Linked DNA regions of Homo sapiens: region 1 is linked to region 2. The links are contacts of gene promoters, found by promoter capture Hi-C in blood cells and fetal thymus (Javierre and others, 2016). All regions are on one chromosome and are shown on one strand. The core of a region is centred on a gene start or on the middle of the fragment in contact, and the rest is flanking DNA. Distances in the headings are between cores, read along the strand shown.

The links. The method cuts DNA at HindIII sites, captures the fragments that hold promoters and counts their contacts. A CHiCAGO score of 5 or more calls a contact.
Region 1: a fragment that was not itself captured here is called in contact with the fragment with the promoter of SPATA4 in region 2 in 1 of 17 cell types (total CD4 T cells); the score reaches 5.9 in total CD4 T cells.

Annotation. Positions count from the first base shown.
Region 1 is chr4:173,324,219-173,331,068 of GRCh38, reverse strand. No RefSeq gene overlaps it. Among named protein-coding and RNA genes, the nearest start is that of HMGB2, 6.7 kb to the left of the region's middle. The HindIII fragment of the contact is 5,987 bases long and covers 1,785-6,850 here.
Region 2 is chr4:176,193,399-176,200,319 of GRCh38, reverse strand. It overlaps SPATA4 (spermatogenesis associated 4), which reads left to right and starts at 4,735. Exons shown (of 6, transcript NM_144644.4): 1 at 4,735-4,975; 2 at 6,738-6,867. The coding sequence starts at 4,758. The HindIII fragment of the contact is 1,203 bases long and covers 4,043-5,245 here.

The sequences.
Region 1 (6,850 bases), core at 3,529-6,028, 2.9 Mb after region 2:
CCACGCCTGTCCCAGTATATTGTTTAACAAGTTTATTTTGGGTGAAAAATTCTCTTTAATGGGAAGAAGAGGGGCTAGAATGTGAATTCATATCTAAAAGGACAAACTGAAACAAAATTCAATAACAAGATTAAGTTTTCTGCTATTAAGTTGAGCTGTTTCAAGATAGAATACCGGATTAGGTTTTGAGTTACAGTAGTCCCTCCTTATCTGTGGGGTGTAAGACCTACAGTGGATGCCTGAAAGAGCCAAGAGTATTGAAGCCTTGTTTTTTCCTATACATACGCAACTGTGATAAAGTTTAATTTATAAATTAGGCACAGTAAGATTAACAGCAATAATGAGAACATTTATAACTAGTAAGTTTTGTGAATGTGGTCTGAAAATACTGTACTGTGGGAAAGTGAAGCCATGGTAAGGGAGGATTACTGTATATCTTCATTTTGGTCTTAAGCTTTAGAATTATGGGTAACTAAGAAGCCGTTTGAGATGGTTATATTCCATGACTAAACTTACCTGGGAATTGTATTATTTACGGGGAAGGCAGTTATTTTAAAAATGCTTGTTTAAGGAAGCAGTTGCTGTATTTGAATTAAGATAACTTTCATTAGAGATTATTAGTGAAGGTTGGCCATCTGGTTGGCTATGTGCTTATAGAATTATAGAAGTAAGCTATTTGTTGACAATTTTAGAGTTAAATTTGACAATCTTGGTTACCTACCAAACTTTAAAATAGAAGTCAGGATTTCTGTTACCCAACCATGGGAGCTTTGGTTGTCTCATATTCGGTAAGATAATTCTCTGTTAAATAGTGGGGTATTAGAACAAATGGACTTAAGTAAAATCTTCAATCATCTTTATGATTGCCCTCTATTAATTATATTCTGAGTGGGAGAGACCTCCCAAAGCCATGAAAGAATTGATAAATTGGCCTACATAAAAATAAGAAATCTTACATTCAGACTTGGGGCTTTCACTTATCATAAGATGAAAACTAATTTTCAGTGTTTCCTGGTGGTAGATGACTTAATATGCTAAAACATTTGGGGTAATCTATTTTAGATACTACCTATGTCTGAGACCCAGTTCCCTACCTCTACCAAATGCTAGCAGTATGAACTTTACCTACTTCACAGTGTTTTAATGGTCGAAGTGTTATTTTAAAGTAGTAACTACTGCATAAAGGATATCGAATAAGAGTTTCTAAAACTGAAATAGAGTAAGTAAGTTTGTTTATTTAAGAATTTCTAAATAAATTAGATCCAAGAGGCAGACCTGTTGGGTTCCTTGTCACCTTTCTTTTTGGGAGTCTGTGACTTCTTTCATTATCTTTTCCATAAAATATACTTTTAAGTTTCTAAGCTAAGAACTATTCTTTTAATCAAGAGTTCCTCCAGAATGAACTCAGGATTTGAGATGGATCCTTCCTGGCTCATGTTTGATATTCTTGTAAGTGTGGATCAAAATTCCCCAAATTCTCAATAATCAAGACCAGGTGACTTCAAGGAGTGAACATATTGGAAAGAACTAAAATGAGGGCAAGAATTAGATCTCACACCAGCCACTACTTGGAAGTGTGTTTGTGAAACCTGTTTTCTTTTTAAAAATAGATCATATCTTAATAGTTCAGAATGTAAAAGGATATGTAATAGTTTATACTCTTTCTTGATTCTGCTACCCTGTCCCAGGAGGCAACACCAACAATGCAATAATCTATCCTTTAAGAAAGACATAGGTGTAAAAAATATATATGTGTGTATATGTTACAGTGTTACATAGAAGCTTCCTATATACAAGTGTATTCATCTCATTATTTTGGAGATTGTTTTCAGTACCCCAGAGCAACAGAGCTGCCATTTTCCTTTAAATAGCTATCTGTATGGTATCCCATTGAATAGATCATAATTTAACCAGTTCCCTAAGGATAATAGGATAATTATGGGTTTTGTTTTGTTTTTGTTTTATATACATATTTTCTTTTTTTTTTCAGACGGAGTTTCGCTCTGTCACCCAGGCTGGAGTGCAGTGGCACATCTCGGCTCACTGCAAGCTCCGCCTCCCGGGTTCACGCCATTCTCCTGCTACAGCCTCCCAAGTATCTGGGACTACAGGCGCCCACCACCAAGCCTGGCTAATTTTTTCTATTTTTAGTTAGAGAACACTTGCTGGGTATGGTGGCTCACGCCTATAATCCCAGCACTTTGGGAGTGTGAGGTGGGAGGCTCACTTGAGCCCAGGAGTTTGAGACTAGTCTAGTCAACATAGACCTTGTTTCTACCAAAAATACAAAAATTAGCCGGGCATGGTGGTGCATGCCTGTGGTCCTGGCTATTTAGGAGGCTGAGGTGGATCACTTGAGCCTGGGATGTCTAGGCTATAATGAGCTGTGATCATGCCATCGCACTCCAGCCTGGGCAACAGACCAAGACTTGGTCTGAAAAAAACGAAACCATTTGATGTCACATGTGAAAAAAGACCTACAAGTGAAGTAGGTGGGCCAAAAGACATGCACATTTAAAAATGTGCTAACTATACTAGCTAAAACCTGTGCTTAATATATGCCAGAAACTGCTCTGGTGCTGTTAATGGAGCCTGCTAAACAAAACTGCTTCTCAACAATAGAAGTTGTACTACGCTATGGAGTGGACACTCCATAGCAATGAAATGTTTTGGAGTGCCTGTTTCCTCATCTCAGCAACATAATAGTTCTCAAACTTCTTAGTCTTTGTTATTCTGATATAGATAAAATGTTTTCTATTATGAGTTTCATTTTTTTTTTATGTTTAACAGCCATTTGTGGGGCTGAGTGCAGTGGCTCATGCCTGTAATCCCAGCACTTTAGGAGGCCGAAGCAGGCGGATCACTTGAGGTCAGGAGTTCAAAACCAGCCTGGCCAACATGGTGAAACCCTGTCTCTACTAAAAATACAAAAACATTAGCCGGGTGTGGTGATGGGCACCTGTAATCCCAGCCACTTGGGAGGCTGAGGCAGGAGAATCGCTTGAACCCGGGAGGCAGAGGTTTGCAGTGAGTAGAGATCACGCCACTACACTCCAGCCTGGGTGACAAGAGCAAGACTCTGTCTCAAAAAAAAAAAAAAAAAAAAAAAAGCCATTTGTATTCTTTCCTGTGGTCTTTTCTCACTGGTCTTTTTATTAATAGTTTTTGGGAATACTATATATTAAGGAAAATGACCCTTTTGACTTTATGATGCTTTTTTCATGCAGAGATTTCTTTATGTAGGCAAATTTAGCAATTCTTTCACTAAAACTTTTCTAGTGAGGTCCTTCCCACTCAAAGATCATAAAAGACTATAAAAATAATTATCCTTTGGTTTCTTTTTTTAAATTTTTGATTACATCTTTGATCCTTCTGGAATTAATTTTGGTGCAAGGACTGAGGTAGGGGCTCACGTTTCCTTCCCGATGTCAGCCACTACTTTTGGTCTTTTAATCTATAAAAGCAGGGCACTGGGTTAGAATTTCCTAAATTCTCTTATATATCAAACAAAGCACTCACTGCAAACTTGATCAATAGAGGAAAGTATGCTTTTTTTGTATTTTACCTTTTACCAGTTTCACTTACTGTAAATCATAAGGTTGTCTTACATAGTAGAAAAATAGCATTATCTTAAACCTGGCTTTTTATTACTAAATATATCACTAAAAATGCTTTACAAAGCAGTAATGATTTTATTTCTTGGGGAATAAAATCAAGAAAGCTAAAGGAGCTGCTATGCCACTGTGTAAGATCTAGTCCTTTAAAAATGAAATTTCATACCTCACCATGTTTGGATTAGTTCTTCATGAGATTCCTGTTGGAGACTGACAGTTTTAGAGAAAGGCAGAGTATTTATTGACATTAGGAAATGCCAAGACCTATAGAGACTAGCCAGGGAAAAGGACTGGATGTGGTGAAGTGAAGAACATTTTGAAAGTAAGCTCTGTGAGGGCAGTAAAATTTTCACTTTTGTATACTGCTTTGTCTCTAATGCAAGAAACAGTGTTCTAAGCATGTTTGTAAATATACAAATACCCAGGTTAAAGGGGATAGCCACTGTTTAGCTCAGTCCTGTTGCTAGATGGAAATGTGAATATAGGATTCCCAGATCTCTCAAATTTTCAAGTGGAACTAGAACTCGTGAATTCTGAATTTTAAATACAGTATTGGCAATGAATTCCAATTTTGGGGTCAAAACATGTCTATAGGTAAGATTCTGCCCAAAGGTCACCAGTTTGCCACTTCTATAAATTAAATAGTAAATATAAGTGTAATAATTTTTACTTGAGTCAGGTCCAAGGTTAATAAAAGTTTATATATGCCTTACAGCTAACCATTGTTTTTATAGGTCAGAAACCCTTCTTGCCCTGATTGGAAACTCAACTTACCCTGCAGCAAAGGTAAATAAAAATGTTTCAATTGAACTTCATTGTGCTCCTGGGCCTTTATTCTTCAAGAGTTAACAGTGCAGACTTCTGGTGATCCTCATCCTAGGTGTTACCACATCTATAGAATAGTAACTCAGGAGTGCAATAGACTGTCGCATTAAAAGGAAAGAAAAATAACTTTTCAGCATTATGTAGCACTAAATTTTGGAACTGGAAATGGCCTTTATATCATCTAGTCTTTCATTAGAAAAGCAGGACAATCAACTTGGACATTGTCCTCGGGCAGATAAGAGATAGTAAAATACCATAATCCATTCATATTTGTGTAATTCTTTGATTCTCCAAATTTTTTCCAAAAAATATTAATGGCTTATACAAAGAAAAACAAGAACAAAATATACAAAGAAAAAAACAAGGTTATGAAAGAAATTAAAAGCAAGGTAGTGAATCACGGATTTGAATAGGGCTCTGTTTTTCTTACTGGTTTTGTAACATCAGACAACTCATGTAACATTTCGGTTTCCTCATCTGTAAAATTTGAATGTTTTTGAGGATTAAGTAAAGTAATACATTTAAGACACTTATCCTGGTGGCAAGAAATAGTAAATGCTCGATAAATATTAGCTAAAAGTATATATGCCGATATACATGGGTTAATACAGATACTACGATGGAGTATTAGATAAAGTTCTAGCTCACTGCAGCCTTCACCTTCCAGACTCAAGCGATTCTTCTGCCTCAGCCTCTCAAGCAGCTGGGACCACAGATGTGTGCCACCACACATGGCTATGTTGCCCAGGCAGGTCTTAAACTCCTGGACTCAAGCAGTCCTCTCCCCTTGGCCTCCCAAAGTGCTGCGATTACAGGTGTGAGCCACTGTTCCAGCCCTGAGGTTCTTGATAGTCTAGGTAGAGAGGAAAATTAAAGAAGTTATGTGGAAAACATACATTCTTTAGGAGAGTTTTTCCTGGCACCAAATAAATATTCATCCCACAGAGTTAGAGGGATATTGAGTACTGGACTTGATTATGTCCTTGACCCCAGTACTAAATTTGTGAACTTGGACAAGTTATTTAACCTATCATGTATAAATGTATTAACATACTGTATGTTTACTTTTAGTCACTTTTGAGATTGATAAAAAGTGCTGAATAAAGTGTTTTGGGAAGTGCCTTTTTCATTCAATCCTGTACACCTAAAACTTGTTTATAACAACTAGTTTATTCATATTCATCTCTGTAATATTCCATTGTGTGATTATATCACAATTCATCCTTTCTCCTGTCAATGGGCATTTAGGTTGCTTCCAGGGTTTTCGCTATTGCAAATGGCTGTGGTATAAAAATTCCTGTATAGCTCTCCTGACACTCAAGCGTACTTCCCCTCCAATAACCTGGATTGTAGATTCTAGCTGTTTCAGCAGCCGGAAACCTCCACTCCGCCTCCTCAGTTCAGCAATACCACCATTCTGAGCCGCATTCCTTGCACCATGGTTGGGAATGTCCTCCCATGGAGACAGACATGGTGAACCTGGGATTCACCTTGTGTATTTCCTTTCTTTTAGATATCAGTCTGCTTTGACTAGTATCCAATTCCTGAAAACAGTTGCTTCATATATTTTGTCCAGCATTAACTGTTGTTTGGGGTAGCAAGATAAGTCCACTTAAAATTATAGCCGGAAGTGGAAGTCTATTCATCCCTATTTTCTATTCAAATATTTAGTTTTGTTTCGGTTAGTTAATTCTTAATACAGCTGTGGTTTATTTGCTCAAACCAAAAGCCCAAGAGAAATTTCATTTAAAGGTAATTTGAAGGATACAATATCTTAGATATTCTTCAAGATGCACTTATCACATCACAGTTTCATAATGCTCAACACTTCTTAAAGTGCTTTCACATGGAATAATTTTCACGTACCTAAACTATTGGCCTATTAGGTATCTGGCTTTCTGGTGAGGTACTTGTCATGTTTTCCATTGAATTATATATGGATTTTTTTCCCAATTATGTCCAGAAATGAAATATATTCCAAGATCCCTATGAGAAACTTAAGAAATAAAGAAACTCCCATTTATTCTAGTCTGGTGCTGTCACTTTTTCAAATTTCTTAGCCTACTTCTACAGCAGCTAAGAATTGGGAGATATGACAATAGACAGGTCAGTTGAGAGAAAGTTTCCCAAATCAATACAGCCACTTACTTGAATCTGTTAGCAACCGTATCTTCTCTTGAGATGTGTTTTGTACAAGGTGCTATGGACTATTTCTAATTTCATTGTGGTAGGCTTCCCTTCTCTTCATTTTTCTCCACTTAACCTGATCTGTCAGGTTGTAAACAAATTTGATTTGAAGGCATGTTTGCTTCTAATAGGCAATTCTATAGTACAGCCAAGAAGGCAATTCTATATACAGCCAAGAAGGATATATGTTGCTGGGGTAATTTTTTATAATTAAAAAAAGTATA
Region 2 (6,921 bases), core at 3,486-5,985:
ATTACAGCTGCTTTTCCATTGGAAGTGTCTTTTTTTTTATTTTTTATTTTTTATTTTTATTTTTTAGATGGAGTCTCACTCTATCACCCAGACTGGAGTGCAGTGGCATGATCTTGGCTCACTGCAACCTCCACCTTCCAGGTTCAAGCAATTCTCCTGCCTCAGCCTTCCGAGTAGCTGGGACCACAGGTGCATGCCACCACACTTGGATAATTTTTGTATTTTTAGTAGAGAAGGGGGTTTCACCATGTTGGCCAGGCTGGTCTCAAACTCCTGACCTCAAATGATCCACCCGCCTCGGCCTCCCAAAGGGCTAAATTATAGGTGTGAGCCACCTCACCTGGCCTGAAGTGTCTTTACTGGAATGAATTTCTACAGTCCCCAGCAAATGTTATTCTGCTGTTAATCTGGAATGTACTTTTTCCTCTCCATAACAGTCTGCGAAAACCACCAAAAGCAGTTTGCTTTTATCTATCAGGATCTATAGCACACATTCAAGCTATTGCCTTAGGTTCAGATCAATTTTCTTGCTCTTTGCCACAAGATTGGCAGAGATTTTTGAGTGTCTTAACATGTCATAGAACATCACACTAGTCCACTATATTGATGATATCCTGCTGAGTCGACCTCATGAACAGGAAGAAGCAAGTTCCTTAGATACTTTAGAAAGATGCAGGTGAGCTAGTGGTAGAGAAAAACCTCACTCCAGGTACCAAGCAATATGTCATTCAGCATCCAATCAGGAAAACAGAACTAATTCCAGGTATTCAACAGCAAGAATTTTAACAGCTGATCCTTGAACAACATTAAGATTAGGGGGACCGACGTCCTGCATGGTAGAAAACCCAACTGTAGACTCCCCAAAGACATAACTATTAATAGCCTACTGTTGGAAGTCTTACCAATAACATAAACATCAATTAACACATATTTTGTGTGATATATATTATGTACTGTATTCTTACAATAAAGTAAGCTAGAGAAAAGAAAATGTTATTAAGAAAATCATAAAGAAGCGAAAATATATTAACTATTCATTAAGTGGAAGTGGATCGTCAGAAAGGTCTTCATCCTTGTCTTCACACTGAGTAGGCTGAGGAGACGGAGGAAGAGGAGGGATTGGTCCTGCTGTCTTGGGGTTGGCAGAGGTGGAAGAAAATCCACATATTAGTGGGCCCGTGCAGTTCCAAATCCTGTGGTTCAAACCTGCATCGGCTTTATAAGGAACTGGTGGTGTTGAAGAACCGAAAAACTAAAATGGGACCATCAAATTAACACAGAGCTAGACACTTCAGGAAGCAATTACCACCCCCAGGGAAGAAGTTGAAGTTATAAGAACGTAAGAGTTGGAGGCTTAAGAGCCTCAAGACTTAGACTTGAGGATGGGGCGTACACAGCTGGTGCTAATACTTCAGGAGCTCACATGAGCTGTCCGAGAGTAAAATTGGGTCTCAGACTTCCAAGGAGGGCCACTTCTTGGTGGTTGCTAAAACCTCGGAGAGAATATGATGAAACTTGCACCAGGAGTGCTAAACAAACAAACCAACCAACCAACCATACTGGAGACTGGAACCAATTGCCCCGGCCAGGTGAAGCTTTGTTGCCATGGTTACACAGGGGCTTGAACAGCAAGCAGAGAAATAGCAAATCCCTGCTCCCCACCTCCTGGCCACTCTCTCACTCCCCATATTGGCAGAATTTACCATCCACCCAGCAAAGGAGAAAATGCCGCAGCGTTCCAACTCCGGCATCACAGAACTGAGAACAGAGAAGGGAGTGTTTCTAACAGGGATGTATTTGCTTAACAATTGGCACACTGATTACAGGAAGATTTCCAACTCTTTAGCAAAACTGTTTACAATTAAGCCCCAATCTAGCTGGGCGTGGTGGCTCATGCCTGTAATTGCTGCACTTTGGAAGGCCAAGGCTGGAGGATTGATTCCTCAAGCCCACAAGTTCAAGACCCGTCTTTATAAAAAATTTAAAAACTGACCAATCATTGTGGTTTGCACCTGTAGTCCCAGCTACTTGGGAGGCTGAGATGAGAGGCTGGGGTGGGAGGTTCACTTGAGTCCAGGAGGTCAAGGCTGCAGTGAGCCCTGAGCACGCCACCGCACTCCAGCCTGCGCAACAGCATGACTCTGTCTCAAAAACAAAAACAAATAAACCCTAACCTATAGATCTAACCTACCTCTCTAGCCATTATCATCTAAACCTTTGGTTGACAATGTCTCTTTGGTTGATAATGCCTAAACACTTTCTCTAACCCTAATGGGTTCTGTTCTTTCCTAAAACTCATTTAAAAAACCCCTCATATTTCTATGCAATTGCTCCCATTAGTCACTCTGTGTGAGATTGCCCCTTCATCATCCAAATAAATTTCCAAGATCACCTTTGAAGCAATCATCTATGCTTACTGAGCACTACGTGCTGCACATTGTTTTAGGCTCTTTATAGATTTCACTTATTTAATCTCTACAGCTCTGTGGTGTATCCTATTTATTTCCATATTTTACAAATACAAATGTTAAATAACTTGCCCAAAGTCATATAGCTAATAAAAGGTAGTGTGAACCCAGAAACTCTGAGACAGGTCTCAGTTAATTTAGAAAGTTTATTTTGCCAAGGTTGAGGATGAGCACCCGTGACACAGCCTTAGGAGGTCCTGACATGTGCCCAAGGTGGTCAGGGCAGTTTGGTTTTATACATTTTAGGGAGACATGAGACTTCAGTCGACATGTGGAAGATGAACATTGATTTGGTCTGGAAAAGGTGGGACAACTAGAAGCAAAGGCAGGACAACTCAAGCAGGGAGGGGGCTTCCAGGTCATAGGTAGATGGGAGACAAATGGTTGCATTCTGTTGAGTTTCTGATGAGCCTTTCCAGAGTAGGCAATCAGGTATGCATTTAGCTCAGTGAGCTAAGCGGTGACTTTGAATAGAATAGGAGGCAGGTTTGCCCTAAGCAGTTCCCACTTTGACTTTTCCCTTTAGCTTAGTGATTTGGGGGAGGTGGGGGGGGTCCCAAGATTTAATTTCCTTTCACAGTAGAAATGGCTATTCAAAGCTTTCATCTTAAAAATCAGCTTAAAATACCACCTTCTAAGATCCAAATTAATGGTCATCTCTTTTGAGAGGACTTCTTACACTCTCCCAGGCCAAAGTATTTGCTTCCTTTCTGGTGCTAACATATTTTTACCATGGCAGAGCTTTTCAGTGTATGTAATCTTTTCACTGATATTTCTATCTCTGAATCTCTTATAAATGATCTGCCGCACAGAGCTGTCCAATCGAAATTCCTGTAGTGATGGAACAGTGCTGTGTCTGTCCTACCCAACATGGCAGCCACTAGCTACATATGGCTATTGAGCAGGTAAAATGTAGCCAGTGGAACTGAGTTTATTTAAATTTAAGTTTAAATAGCCACATGTGGCTAGTGGCTACCATATTGGATGGTAAAGATCTAGCACATACTCCAGGATAGTTCCTCAGAAAAGGTTTACAGAATGAATGAATCATTCATTAAAACTTTTTTAGCCTAACAGAAAACACTTACATAGCTTCAGTTTTGGTTTTCTTTTTTAACCACATACAGAATACACTGGTTTACTTTATTAATAAGCATGTATATGAATAAACATTAAAAATATTACATAGTATCATTATCAAGATCTATCCCATATTTTACCATGTGTATGTATCCACAGGGCCTGTCACCTGGCTCTCTGCAGCCTCAAGTTCCTGAGCTCAAGCAATCCTCCCACCTCAGCATCTGGAGTACTTGAGAGTACAGGTGTGCACCACCACACCCAGCTATTTTGTTTGTTTGTTTGTTTTGTAGCGAAAGTCTCTCCACCTTGTGTTGCCCAGGCTGGTCTTGAACTCCTGAGCTCAAACGATCCTCCCGCCTCCACCACCCAAAGTGCTGGGATTACAGGCATGACCCACTGTGCCCTGCCAAGCAAAAAAAAACAAAAAACAAAAAACAAAAAACAAAAAACTGTGGCTGTAAAAATTTTTAATGGATTTTAATAATTAAGCTTACATATTTATAATTGCCTATGCCAACTTTGCAGTTGTTTTCATTGTGTTCAGATAGATCCCAAGTGACTAGATGAATGCGTGGCACATAATATGGACTCAATACATATTTGTTGAATTAATGAAGGAATTATGCCTACTAGGAGATTTTAATTAAGTGTGAAAATCTAACCTACACATCGTTTTCAAATATTAATGTTTACAAATACTTAATGCAATAATTAAGGAAATAGTTATGTTAAATTTTGTGGACATTCATTTCCATTTCAAAGATTTTTTTCCCCCATCTCTTCCAATTCCCAAACAAAAACTGTCCTTGGCCTCTGGAGTCTTCTCACACCACTCCTCAAACTAGACGACTGAAAATAGGCCTTTGGCTGGGCAGAAACCAACAATATTTAAAATACAAAACTTATGAACGATGACATAAGAAAAAAAAAGCTCTAAATAGGTTAACAGTGAGGCCAACTAAATCTGAGACTGAAAGCGCTCCCCAGACCGCAGCCACACCACTGGGACCCCAGCTTTGCCTCCCTCGATACCCGGCCCCGCGGTCCAAAATCTGAGTAAAGCGGAAGTACGGGCGGCTGCTGCGGCGCTTGCGCAGGCGCTGAGGTCTCGCCCCATAAGACTCCGCCCCGCCCCACGAGACCGCGCCGCCAGCAATAAGGCCCAGCCCCGCCTTCTGCTGTTGCCGCAGCAACCCAGAAAGCGTCATGGCTGCCGCCGGCCAGGAAAAAGGGTATTTGACACAGACTGCGGCAGCCCTAGACAAGTCACCGTCACTTTCGCCACAGCTAGCAGCTCCCATCCGAGGGAGGCCTAAGAAGTGTCTGGTCTATCCGCATGCGCCGAAGAGCTCCCGCTTGTCTCGTTCCGTTCTGCGTTGGCTTCAGGGTCTGGATCTCAGCTTCTTCCCCAGGAACATCAACAGGTGCTTGAGTAAGCCAGTCCTAGGCCCCCCCGGTGGGCGCCCCGCCTGCTTTCCGCCGCCTGCCAGGCCTCAGATTGCCTACCCTGGCCTGGCTTATGTTTCAAATCAAGACCCCCCCACCCACGTACACACACGAAAACACTATTAGGGAACAAGGCTTTAACAAAATACCACGATACATCTTGTTTATTCAATTAATCAACCAATCATTAAATTGTGGACAATATAGAATGCTTTGGTGACTACAAAAATATTAAAATAGTCAAAGCTTTTTCTTTAGTGATATTGGGCATTAATACTGGTAAGGACGGCCGGGCACAGTTGCTCATGCCTGTAATCCCAGCATTTTGGGAGCCGAGGCAGGCGGATCACCTGAGGTCAGGAGTTGAGTAACAGCCTGACCAACACGGTGAAACCCCGTCTCTACTAAAAAATACAAAAAATTAGCCCAGTGTGGTGGCGGGTGCCTGTAATCCCAGCTACTGGGGAGGCTGCAGGCAGGAGAATGCTTGAACCCGGGAGGCGGAGGTTGCTGTGAGTCGAGATTATGCCGCTGCACTCCAGCCTAGGTGGCAGGGTAAGACTCTGTCTCAAAAAAAAAAAAAAAAAAAAAAAAAAAAAATACTGGTAAGGATCAGTTTACCCTTTGTCGGAGATGGCATCTAGTTTGAGAGTTACCAACAAGTTTTTAAAGTTGCTGCTTAATTGTAGGCACTTTGTATGTAACTGGCAGCTAATATTTGCTCTGGGAATGCAAACTAAATTCTATAAAAAGGCAATGAATCTTTTGCAGAACTCTGGTTTAAAGTAGTCTCTCCTTATCAGAGAGGCATAGGTTCCAAGATCCCCAGTGGATGGCAACTGTGGATACTACAGAACCCTCTGTCAGAACACATTTCTGTTTATGTCTTCCATCCACAAATTTAATGCCTTTTTAAAAATCTTAACTAAGCACTTATCACACACTGTGGCTGAAAGTTTTTCAGTTTGAGGTGTGATGCCGAAACTATCAAGAATTTCTTTTTCTTCATATTTCAGGAATATGATTCATTCCTACCATTGTAACCATTCTTACAACTTTCTATTAAGTCAAGAACTTTCATCTTTTCACCTAAAGGAATAATTTTATGGTTTCTCTCTGGCATATCTGAATCACCAGCATCACTGCTCTTGCACTTTGCACACAAGCGCACCACACTGTACAGTTGATCTGATGACTAAAAGGTGACTGATGTCTACAACGTGGAGACTCTGGACAAAGGGAGGACTCACATCCTAGGCAACACAGAGCAGGCAGGGAGGTTTCATCAGACTGCCCAGAACAGAGTACAATTTAAAAGTTACAAATTATTTCTTGAATTTTCCATTTAATATTTTCCGACTGTGATTGACCCAAGGTAACTGAAACTGCAGAAAGCAAAACTGCAGATAAGCGGGGGACTAGTTTACTAATTTGTCTTCAGTATTACTTACAACCATGCCTCTGAAATTTTAAAGTGCATATGAATCACCTGGGGATCTTCTTGAAATGCGGATTCAATACAAATTAACAGTTTGGGTTCATCAAAAGAACACCAAAGCCTTTGAAACGTAGATAATCTTAGCAAAATTCCACAGTAGGTTCTCCTTAGAGCAACGATCCAACAACACTCACTTTACAAGATACTTTTAGTATGGAATATTAGACTAGTATTAATTATAAAATAATACAAACTGCATAATTAACTACACTTTATTTCATTTCCTAATTGCCACGGATCAGAGATTTTTCAAATGGCTTCCTAATTGCAGAAATATTCTGTATATATTACCCCTGGGAACTTGAATTATCATCCTTTGAAAACGGGACCTCTTTAAAAGTCAAGTTGGATAACTGGGCACAGTTGGAGAAGGTACGTTAGCAGTCATTTACACTTTTAACTGTTAAGATGTTTGTTTTAAAGTGT